Linked DNA regions of Homo sapiens: region 2 is linked to region 1. The links are contacts of gene promoters, found by promoter capture Hi-C in human tissues and cell types (Jung and others, 2019). All regions are on one chromosome and are shown on one strand. The core of a region is centred on a gene start or on the middle of the fragment in contact, and the rest is flanking DNA. Distances in the headings are between cores, read along the strand shown.

The links. The method cuts DNA at HindIII sites, captures the fragments that hold promoters and counts their contacts. A contact is called where the count stands out against the background at its distance.
Region 2: a fragment that was not itself captured here is called in contact with the fragment with the promoter of CSMD2 in region 1 in 1 of the 25 tissues and cell types used here (dorsolateral prefrontal cortex).

The regions. Positions count from the first base shown.
Region 1 is chr1:34,161,866-34,167,535 of GRCh38, reverse strand. CSMD2 (CUB and Sushi multiple domains 2) reads left to right here and starts at 2,306. Exons shown (of 71, transcript NM_001281956.2): 1 at 2,306-2,625. The coding sequence starts at 2,439. It also overlaps a transcript of C1orf94 not described here. RefSeq lists enhancers at 3,796-3,855, 4,276-4,405. The HindIII fragment of the contact is 8,389 bases long and covers 1-5,403 here.
Region 2 is chr1:33,979,592-33,985,261 of GRCh38, reverse strand. All of the region lies in intron 3 of CSMD2 (CUB and Sushi multiple domains 2), which reads left to right. Among named protein-coding and RNA genes, the nearest start is that of CSMD2-AS1, 110 kb to the right of the region's middle. The HindIII fragment of the contact is 3,159 bases long and covers 1,013-4,171 here.

The DNA of each region.
Region 1 (5,670 bases), core at 1,057-3,556:
GCAGGGATAAAATAGGTGCCCTGCCCTCCACAGCCCCCAGGGAGAAGGATGACAAACGCTCCTTTTGCCCGGGAAAGTTCTGGGGGTAAATCTCATCTGCCCGTTGCAGCCACAGAGCAAAGTTCTGGAGCTGAGAAGAGGGTAAGAGAAAGCCCATTGGCCTGCAGCCCCAGAATTACAGAGCAGCCCAGACTCTCTTCTGCCCAGCTGTGGGCTGCACAGGAGGCCTGGGCATCTCTGCCAGTTCCTTTCTCTGGAGGAGAACCCCGCCTCCAAGAGAGGGGTAAAGTCGGAGCTTAGAAGCCAGGAGCCCACCCCCAGGCAAGCCCAGCTAACAGCCCCCAAGGCCACCACCACCACTCACTGCTGGCGTAGTCAGTCCCTTCCTCCTCTCCAGGGCTGGTGGGAAGGCTGAGCCCTCTCTTTCGGGGGCTGAGTCTGGACAATGGGAAGGGAGAAGCCCCCTCCTCACTGCCCCGGGAACATAAAGCAGGCCTTTCACTGAGGAGTTCTGGCTGCTTCGGTTGGTTCTTGGCACCCAGCAAGGCGGCGTCGGGAGGGGCGGGCATACAAGCGTGTTGGGGGTGGGGACCAGGCCCGCGATTCTGAGGAGATTCGCCCGCCCAGGGCCACCGGGCTGGCTCCCCAGCTGTGGGATGAGCTCATGCAGGGAAACCGGAACAACTTGGGGTGGGGGGAGGGAGGAAGAGTGGCATCTAGGAGGCTGCGAAAGCGTGGCTCTGGGGAGGAAGTTTTTCATGGGGAGTAGGGACAAGCCTCCACTCCTCCAGCCCTGCCCCCGCCCCCCAATTCATATCGTCAACTCCACAGCCCCTCTTCACACCCTTCCTTGGATGGAAATTCCTGGCCACGCTGACAGCCGGCCAACCTGGGTCGCCAGCCACCCCCAGCCTGGCTCGCCATCCCTACAGTCCCTCTCCACACCCTTCCCCGGAAATTCTCAGGCCCCACCGCCCGCCGGCCACTGCCCCCTTGGCCACACAGATGCCAACGCTCCGTTTTGGCCAAATCAGGCTGCCCTAAGCCCGGAGCACAGCTTCTCTGGGGTGTGTCGGCAAAGGGGGCGGGGGTGCCCATCGCAGGTGCCTTTCCACTGCACGCGCCAGCAGAAGCCTCCTCTCTGGACCTTGCCCCTCCCAGTTTCCTCCAGCCTCCCCCCATGAAGCGTCTCTTCCCTCTCGCCGAGAGTTTGGCGTAGACAGCGAAGGAGCCATCGTGACTGGCGGAGAAGCCTGGAGTAGACGAGACAGAGACGGCGACCGAGTCGGGTGGGGGATGGGGTGGGGACCGACACTAAGCCCTTGGGGCCTAGAGGCAGCCGCTACTGGGGAGAGGTGGGGAGCAGCTCACGTCCTTGGGAAGAACTCTCTTGGTTTGGGGCCTTGGCTGGGAGGAGGAAGGGGAGAAGAAGAAGTAGGATCCGATTATTTAAATTTGGGGATAAATTGTACTAGTAACTCTTGCACCGTCCTTCCACCAACCTCACTCCCCACCCCCAACTCGCGTGCACACAGGGACCGCCTCTGCCACCCTGAGATTTTTGTCTTAGGGTAGGAGTGGGACCGCACTGGGTCAAATGAACCGGTTCCCCCCCCTCCCCACCCCACACACAACCCCCCTCCACCGCCCTCCAATTCTTAACCCTGCCTCTGTCTACGCACACACGCCCCTCTCCTGGGATGGGGTAGGAGGCTATTGTGAATGAGGCTCATAAGCATCGCCCCCGGCCCTAGATGGCAAGTTCAAAGCCACCACCCAAGATCAGCTGGTAAGAGCCAAGACTTGGGGAACGCGTCCTTCTTTGGTTACCTTTTCCCAGACAGGATTCCAATTTCCAAACGTGGAAGAGGTGTGCGTGTATGTGCCTGTGTGTGTGAGTGCGTGTGTCTCTGTCACTGTGTGTGTGTGTGTGTGTTTGTGTGTGTGTGTGTGGAGAGGGGGGTGTATTAATGGGTGATGTTATAAATGAAAACAGGAGGACTGAACTTAAAAGAAACTGGTCAATTGCAAAACAGACACGGATAAACAACCCTTTAGATGTAATTTGTGGTTTATCTGGAGGTGGAGGTGGCGCTGAAGAGGAACCCCCGCCCCCCAATATTTTATCCTTAGCTGCGCCTCCACCCCCAGCATTTGGAGCGGCGGAGAAGCGGCTCCGGAGTGATTAATCCGGGGATAATTCACCCCCTCCCGCCCCCCGGCGCGAACCCCGCGAAGCGGGATTGGAGCGAGTCATTTCCGAGAGCGCAGCGCGCCTCTCCCCGGCCGGGCGGACACTTGGTTCATTCCAGCCGCAGAAGCTCAGGGCTCCCGCGTACCGGGATTTTTTCCGAGCAGAAAAAAGCTCCAGAGCTCTCCTGACCTCCTTTCTCCTCGGCGGCGAGCGGAGCCTCTCCCTCGGCGCTGCCGGCCGCGCCATGCCGCGCTCGCGGGGACGGGAGCTGGGGCGCTGCGGCTGCCCCGCGGGGAGGGCTCGCGGCGAAACCGGGATTTCGGCGCTTGTGCCGGGCGCCGGGAGCCGCTGGGGCCGCCCGCCGCCGCCAACGCCGCCGCCTCTGCTGCTGTTGCTGGGCTGTGGGTTGCTCAGCGTCTCGGCCGCCGCGGGTGAGTCCAGCCGCGCCGAGGAGCCAGCGGCCGCCGCGCGCCCCACCCGAGCCCCGAGCCCACCCATCCTCGACCCGGTCCCAGTCCCTCCCCCCGCCTCTATCCCTGCCTGAATCTCCCACCCTCCCAGTTGCCTACTCTCATTCTCATCCCTGCCTCCGTCTCCCACCCCACCCTCAGCCACGTCCTCACCTCCACCCTCACCCTCACTGCTGCCCCAACCCCAGCCGCAACTTGGACGGATGCGGCCGGTGTGGGGGCCTGGGAGACAGACATCCCCGCCCGGGGTTGCGGGGCACCTGGTCTGTGGCTTCAGTTTCTCCAGCCTCCCAGCCCCCACGGTGCTAGGCTTTTTCCCGATAAACTTTCCGGGAGCCCTACTCCCCCGGCTCCTGATTCTGCCAGGCACGCTGGTCCTGGGGGCTGGAGAGGAACCGTGCGCCCCCTCCCCATTTCTGCGTCTGCAAGGTCTGCCCTTCCCTGCCCCCGCCCATTTTCTCCAATTGAAACCGGTGCCCCCTCTGGAACCGACTGCAGACTGCGGCCGCCATCCCCCTCCTCAAATGCTACCCCTCCCTCGGCGCTCGGAGCTAGGAGGGGGTTCAGGTGGACGCGTGCCCACGGTGGGGGTCCCGCGCATTCCTTGCAGGAGGGTGCAGGTGGGGGCTGGAGGGTGTTGAGGGATGGGAAGGAGGGGGTGGGGGTTGTAGCCCGAGGCGGGGGAGGGAGTGCCGCCGCCAGGCTTCGCGCTGCCACATTCCCCTCGGTGCTCACTCCGCGCCAAAGTGCCCTTTCCCGCGCCCTGCTGCAGCCGAGCGCCTCGGCTGCGGCAGCGGCAGCGGCGGCGCGGGCGGCGGGACCAGCTCCCGACGACCGAGTCCGGGAAGGGGCAGATCTAGCGGGTGCGGAGAGTCCCGGAACTTCGCGGGTGTCTGGCTGCAGCTTGCAGCGCGCGGGGGAGGTACGCGAACCTTCGAGGGAACCCGGTCCCCTGTGGAGGCTACTGGCCGCGACTGGTGCCCTCCCGCTTTACCCACAGCACCCCTCCGAAGCTCAGTTCTAGCTACAAGCTAGAAAGTTCCGTGTGCCCGGGTGGAGACGGGTCCAAACCGGGATGCCTGGAACCGCATTTTCATTTAGCCCGCGAGGCTGACACCCACTGGGGGAGAAACCGAAACACCTGCTGGCCAGGCCTAGACCTAGGGCACCTTCGACCTGGAGCCGTGTTTTCTTTTTTGTTTTTGTTTTTGTTTTGTTTTGTTTTGTTTTGAAACCACCGATTGAACCTCTGAAGGCTTGGCCTGGACCACCCCAGTTCCCCTTCTTGGGAAAGTGCGCCTCTCCTCTGGCAGGTCAGTGAGTGGCGAGCTCTCTGGCCCACTCTGGCCTTCAGCGTCTTGTGAGTCTGTCCTCGCAGACCGTGTCGCCCACCGCTTAACCGCGGCATGTTGGGGTTCTTGGTCAGGGAGGGCGCCCCGAGCCAGCTCTGGCTCTCTCATTCCTAGCTGACGGGACTTTCTTAGGTTCTGCTAAGAGTCATAGCCACCGACACCCAGAGAGGGGCGCCCGCGGTGCGCGCGCCTGGGAGCTCTGGCCTCTCGCACACCCACACCCACTGGGAGGCTGTGCATACCGACGCTGCTGGTCACCCAGACTTGCCACATGGGCGGTGGGGGAATCGCTGCTACCTCCCGCCAGGCCTCCCGGACGTACGTTGAGGCGAGGCCGGTCTCTGGCTTAGCTGATTGGAGAATGTCTCGGCATCGGACTGAATTGTTTTTCTGGCTAGATTTGTCCCTGCCCCTTGGGCATATCCTGCCCCTAGGGGAGAGAAAAAGGCCGACTCACCGGCGCTTGCACCGCTCAGCGGTGCTGGAATCCTGCCCTATAGAGATCCATTTGCTCGCAGCTCCTTGCTCAGTAGAGAAGTTGCGGGGAGGGGGCCTTGTGTTCATGGCTTGGGGTAGTTCCTCTCCGGCAGGCCCTGCTCTGGCTTGCAAGCTTCCAGTACATTTCTTTTCTTTTCTTCTCTTTCTTTTTAAATTTTTTTTAAGACGGAGTTTTGCTCTTCTCGCCCAGGCTGGAGTGCAATGGCGCGGTCTCAGCTCACTGCAACCTCCGCCTCCTGGGTTCAAGCGATTCTCCTGCCTCAGTCTTCCGAGTAGCTGGGATTACAGGCGACCGTCACCACGCCCGGTTAATTTTTGTATTTTTAGGAGAGATGGGGTTTCACCATGTTGGCCAGGCTGGTCTCGAGCTCCTGACTTCAGGTGATCCGCCTGCCTCTGCCTCCCAAAGTGCTGGGCTTACAGATGTGAGCCACCGCGCCCAGCCCAGTACATTTCTTTTTAAGCCTTTCCCGCCTTTAGATGGGCTGTTTGGCCTTGCAGGCAGCAGAGATTTGGAAATGGACTTGGTGACAGAAGATCGGCAGGATTTGGTACATTAGAAGGGGAAACACATTCATTTTGTGTTCAGTTCACACTGTTGAATTTAAAAGATGCTCAGGACTGAACCGTCTCCCTTCCTCGGCTCAGTGATCACTGGATAAATGAATAAAATAGTTTGAAAAAGGGGAGTCTCCTCACCCACCCATACCTTCTCCCCTCAACCCCTTTAGTCCTTGTCCTGCCTTGCACTCCCCCTCCCCCTCCCCACCCCAGCCTCCCTGGAGACTTCCCACCAATTACCTGCTGTCCCTATCAATCATCCTCCCTTTTTTTTTTTTTTTTTTTTGAGAGGGAGTTTCACTCTTTTGTTGTCCAGGCTGGAGTGCAATGGCGCAATCTCGGCTTGCTGCAACCTCTGCCTCCCGGGTTCAAGTGATTCTCCTGCCTCAGCCTCCTGAGTAGCTGTGATTACAGGCGCATGCCACCATGCCCAGCTAATTTTGTATTTTTAATAGAGAAGGGGGGTTTCTCCATGTTGGTCAGGCTGGTCTCGAACTCCTGACCTCATGATCTGCCCACCTTGCCCTCCCAAAGTGCTGGGATTACAGGCGTGATCCACCGCACCTGGCCACCCTCCCTTCTTAAAACACATTTC
Region 2 (5,670 bases), core at 1,343-3,842, 180 kb after region 1:
CCAGGGAGGGGTGGGGTGGATGGGGAAGGAAGGCTAAGTCCTGAGTTTTGAGTCTCCATAGTGAAAGGGAGACAGCCCAGGGCTCCATCCCTCCAGGACAGCTTCCCCTCCATCGACCTGCTGGTGAAGCCTTGAAGCTGTGGCATTGCGTTACTGCACACACTTGGCTTGAATATGATGGATTCTGAGGTCCATGTACGATAGCAATGGGAACCGTTAACGCCACACGTCTGCCTTCATCAAAGCTGCCTTGTTTTCTTTGAGAGGTTTTATAATAAGCAATCATTACCCATTTGTGCAATACTTTTATATTAACATCACCTCTTTTATACACTGGGGTTCTGGGGTTCTGTGTGAGATTTCCTTCCTTCCTTCCTGCCTGCCTGCCTGCCTGCCTGCCTTCCTTCCTTCCTTCCTTCCTTCCTCCTTCCCTCCTTCCCTCCCTCCCTTCTCCCTTTCCCTTTCCTTTCCTTTTTCTTTTGACAGGGTCTCACTCTGTCACCCAAGCTTGAATGCAGTGGAAAAATCTCAGCTCACTGCAGCCTTCAACTTCTGGACCCAAGGGATCCTCTCACCTCAACCTCCCGAGTAGTTGGGACTAAAGATGCATGCCACCGTATCTGGGTAATGTTTTTACTTTTTGTAAAGACAGAGTCTCGCTATGTTGCCCAGGCTGGTCTGGAACTCCTGCAATCCTTCTTCCTCCACCTCCCAAAGCGCAGGCGTGAGCCACTGCACCCAGACCAAGATTTCTTTTGGGAGGGATTTGTTTTCTTAAAAAGCAAGTTTGGAAACCAGAGCTTCACACTTGAGTGTCTTGCTGCTTTGAGTGTGATCTGAGAAGCAGCTGCATGGGCACCCCCTGAGAGCTTGTTAGAAATGCAGAACTCAGCCCCCACCCCACACCGAGTGAAATAGAACCTGTTGCACTTTCAAGATCCACAAGTGATCTCTACACTGTTGAAGAAGCACTGCCTTAGTCTAAATCAGGATCACTGAGGAGCTTGTCAAAATGCAGATTCCCTGGCTTCCTCCATGAGATTCTGACTCAGGAGTAAGGGAAGGCCCAAGCTATGTCCATTTTGTCCTTTTTTTTTTTTGGTGGGGGGAGACAGAGTCTCGCTCTGTCACCCAGGCTGGAGTGCAGTGGCGCGATCTCGGCTCCCTGCAAGCTCCGCCTCCAGGGTTCACGCCATTCTCCTGCCTCAGCCTCCCGAGTAGCTGGGACTACAGGCATGCGCCACCACGCCTAGCTAATTTTTTGTATTTTTAGTAGAGACAGGGTTTCACCATGTTGGTCAGGCTGGTCTTTAACTCCTGACCTTAGGTGATCCACCTGCCTTGGCCTCCCTTGGTGCTGGGATTCCAGGCATGAGCCACTGCACCCGGCCTATGTCCATTTTTCATAACACCCCTGGTTATGGTGCAAGTCTTTCGTCTGCCCTGAGATGTTAATGTTCACTCTCGGCTAACAGCTTCAGGGAGGCAGGCTGCCCAATACATGCACAGAAACAAGCTTCCTCAAAACGTCTTTCTCTCCTTTACAGAGATCCTGTCCTCTGATGTCCCTGACCTCAGAGGTAGTAGGATGGGTGATGGGCTGGGGAGAAAGCATGCCTGTGACCTGCAGCTTCACAAGTTCTCACTTTAGCCTTGACCACCGAGACATCCTTCTGCTACAGGGAGAGATAGACTAAGACAGCAGACGTTCTGTGAGAACCAGGTCTGTCCCCAAGAAGAGGAAGTCTTGCAGATTACAGACCAGATCTGCAAATATTCCTGCAGACTCTTTGAAATTACTTTCTACATAACCAGTCTCCAAGGATTTGATGTCAGTTCTTTCCTCCCTTCTTGCCCGCTAGAACTTCCCACAGGGAAAAATGTTCCCAAGTAGAGAGATGCCCCAAGATAGGTGGCAAGGAGGGGAGAGGCAGGTGATTAGACCTGCTGCATTGCCCACATCCTTGAGCATGAGGCCATAAATAAGTTCTTGGCATCTGCTAAGTGCTCAAAAAATAATCATCGGATATTTTTTTAAAAAGCCATCTCCCACCTGGATTGTTGCACTGCCTTCTAAGCAGCTCCCTGCCTCCAGTCTCCCTCTGCAGAGGGCCCTTGTCATAACTGTAGACCCCTAAGGGAGTGTCTGAGAAGCTGGGCTGGCAATGGGAGGCTCTGGCAATCAGGCTCTTCCTGTAACAGCCCATCTGTAGACAGCTGGGTCCCCACTCCCCTGATCCTGCAGGTCTCTGCTCACACCCTGCCTTCTTAGAAGTGTTGCCCTCCTCATCTCACTCCCCTTTAATTCATCCTTCTTGGGCTCCTAGCCCTGCCATCCCTTGTTCTGAGTCCCTCAAGACTCCCTTGGACTCCTAGGGTCTGGTCCAAATGTCTTGGATGTACAAAGCCTTCACGAGCTGGGTTCTGCCTACCCCTTCACCCACATCTTTGCCAGCCCTCCCTGTGCCCTGTGCTCCACCAAGGCCACAGTAGATCCAGCGCCTTGAGGGTGCCATGCCCTTGCGGTCATCTCTGCCTGTGCACCTGCTGCTCCCTCTGCCAGGGATATCCTTTCCTCCACCAACTGGCAGGTCTCCTATAACCTATTCCAGGAGTCTCTTCACAGGTCCGTCATTCATTCAGTCATTCAACATGAATTGAGTGAGTTCCTACCATGTGCCACATACTAAGCTAGAGTCTGGGGACGTACAGTGCCTGTGATAGATTCATCAACTCATTTAAAATACTCCCAGTCCAAGAAGCTTCAGGATAACCTCTCTCCTCCCTTCCACAGTTTGCTAATGAGGAAACTGAAGCACGGTGTGGTTAAATGGCTTTCTCAAGGACAAACTACTAGAAGGTAGAGGGTCAGGACTGGAGCACAGAGTCTGGCTTCAGAGCCCAGGGCTTGGGCACTGTGGCACTGTGCCACTGTGCAGCCCCTTTGCAAAGGTCTGTTTCTCAATGTCTCCTGTGATCTTGCTCCTCCTTCCTCCCGCCCTGGTTCTCCTCTGTTGCTCCCAGCTCAGAGGATGGAACGTCTGTTCATCCAGTAGCCCCCCAAGAAAACTGGTAGTCATTTTGGCCACTGATCTCTCCATCACCCACTTCTGTTTGCCTTCTGAATGTTTCTGACATCTGTCCACTTTCCACTTTTCTTCACCGTCCTGTCACCCACTAGCCTGAGGTTCCATCTTGTCTCACCTGGACAGCTATGGTAGCTCTAAATTGCCTTCTCTGCCTTCACCCATGCCCTCGGCACAAATCAGCAGACTTACAGCCACTCTGATCAGGGCACCCAGTGTGACTTCCACAGGCCTCCCATACTGCCCTCTCTGCCCTTTCTCAGCCCTCCCTCTGAAGCATCTGCACAGGGGACCCCTTCCACCTGGGGGTGCTTCTTATCCTGCAGCCCCATCCCAGCAGAACCTCACTGTGCCCATTCCTCAGCTCTCAGCTCCAGACTCATTGTCCCAGGGGTTCTCCTCTGATGGCCTGTCCAGCCCAAATGCCTTTGCTTCCCTCATGGGCCAGTCTGGCTCTATGATTACATACTTGGCAGTGTCATTGCTGTATGAGCACCTGTCTCCTTCATGAGACTGAAAGCTCCAGGAGAGTGGCAACATATCTAGTTCTGGTCTCTACTGTATACTCAGTGCGTGGCCCAGGGCCAGATATAGAGTAGGACGGAAATACGTGATGAACAAATGAAGGGGTTGTTATGACGATCAAATGAGAAAGTATAGGTAAAAGTACTCAAAACAGCCCCTAGCACAAGTCAGATACTCAATTATAAGCTACTAGTAATGAGTCTTGTTGTTAGAACCAATCTTGAGCAAGCCTTACCTGATGCCCAAAGGGGGATGAAAATTGCAAATAACGAGGATGGCAACTGCACACAGCTGGAAGGGACTATACAGAGCTGAGGGTGGAAGCTGCAAACAGCTGAGAAAGTGCTTATGAACAGCTGGGGCTGTGACTGCACACTCCTGAGGATAAGGCCTGCAAATAAGTGGGAAGTGAGTGCAAATAGCTGGAATGTTGAACTGCAAACAACCGGGAGTAAGGACTGCAAAACAACCAGAGCAGAGGCTGCATCTGGGGAGCAGAAGAGCTTCGGAGCACTCACATCACCCACTGCCTCTGCAATACTGGGTCCCTGCACTTTCTCCTCTCTCCCAACAGAAGTGTGCCCAAGAGACCCCAGGGGTATCTCTCACGGGCCCACAAATAAGACTGGTTCGCCTGGTCTATTCTGAAGTAACTTTTCCCTCCCCTCCCATGCTCCACCATGTTACTTTCTCTCAGTTCTTCAGATAGGCTTGTATCCTCCCACTACCTGACCTTTGCACATGCCAGGCCCTCCTTCTGGAAGTTCCCCACCCCATCCTTCAGATCTGAGTTCCAATACCACTTTATCAGAGAGACAAGATCAGATTATCCTTCTCCATTTTCCTTCGTTTCATCATCTTCAGTGAGAACAATGATTAGCATTTGCATATACTTGTTGGGCTTTCTGATGACTGCCTACCACCCCTACTAGACTCTAATCTTCTAGAGAGCAGGGACTTAGCACCTAGTCCACGGTCTGACACGTAGTAGGTGCTCATAAATATGAGATGGATGGAAGGATGAATGGAGGAACTGGAGCAATGGTTGAGTGGACAGAGAGTTCCTCAAAGGCACAAGCGAAGAAAATAAAACAACTGTCTTAATTGAGTGCTTACTGTGTACCTGGCCCTGGAACAAGTCATCCCTTTCTTGTTAGTGCTTGGGATGTATATGAATGAATCATTCTTTGTCTCTCCAGGGAGTCAGAAGATCTTGATTCTTTCCTTCATTCAGCCAGTGTTTCACTGTGAGACCTGACCTACTAGGAAACCTGTTAGGAAAAGACAAAATATTCCTGCCAGTGCTTTGCACTGACAGCTACCCTTCCTGCAACCTACCTCAGATAACAGCAAGGAAGGAGCCAGTGGTCCTGAGGCTCCAGTTTACCCATTTATGAGAGAGGGATTTGGGTTCTAAGATGATCCCTAAGGACCATGCCAGGTGGGATAGTCTGAGTCTGTGAAACTTCTCAGGAGGTTCCTTATATCTTTATTTTGTAACTGGCCAGGTTCCAGAGTCCCAGCCCCAGATAAGAGTTGAGGGTTCTGGCCACTGGTGCCCACTGCCTTGGCCAGGAAAGGGTCCACAGTGAAGGCTCTCCCCTGGTTCCAGGACACTTGTTCTATCTACCAAGTTGCCTACAAGAATCTCAGATCTCTAAAGCGGGCACAGAACCCAGACTTACACAGACACAGAAACCCACTAAAACCCCCAAAAATAACAATAGTCAATCTTTATAAAGCACTGGCTAGATGCCTGGCATTGCTCTAAACTGAAGCTCAGAGAGGTTAAAGAACTTGCCCAAGGTCACACAGCTAGTAAGTCAGAGCTGGGCTTTGGACCCAGGCAGATGGGCTCTGGGGTCCCTGCTCTTAACCCCTGCATCATAGTCTGAGACATCCAGTCACACTCACCACCAGACACACAGGCTCACAAAAGTACACACACACACATAAAACACACACAAGCTTTTCCAGTGAAGGCAACAAAATGGCTGCTGTCTCCCTTCTCTTTCCTTTCTTGTAGTGATTTAGGCTCTGTGGGCTAAGAACTCTGCAC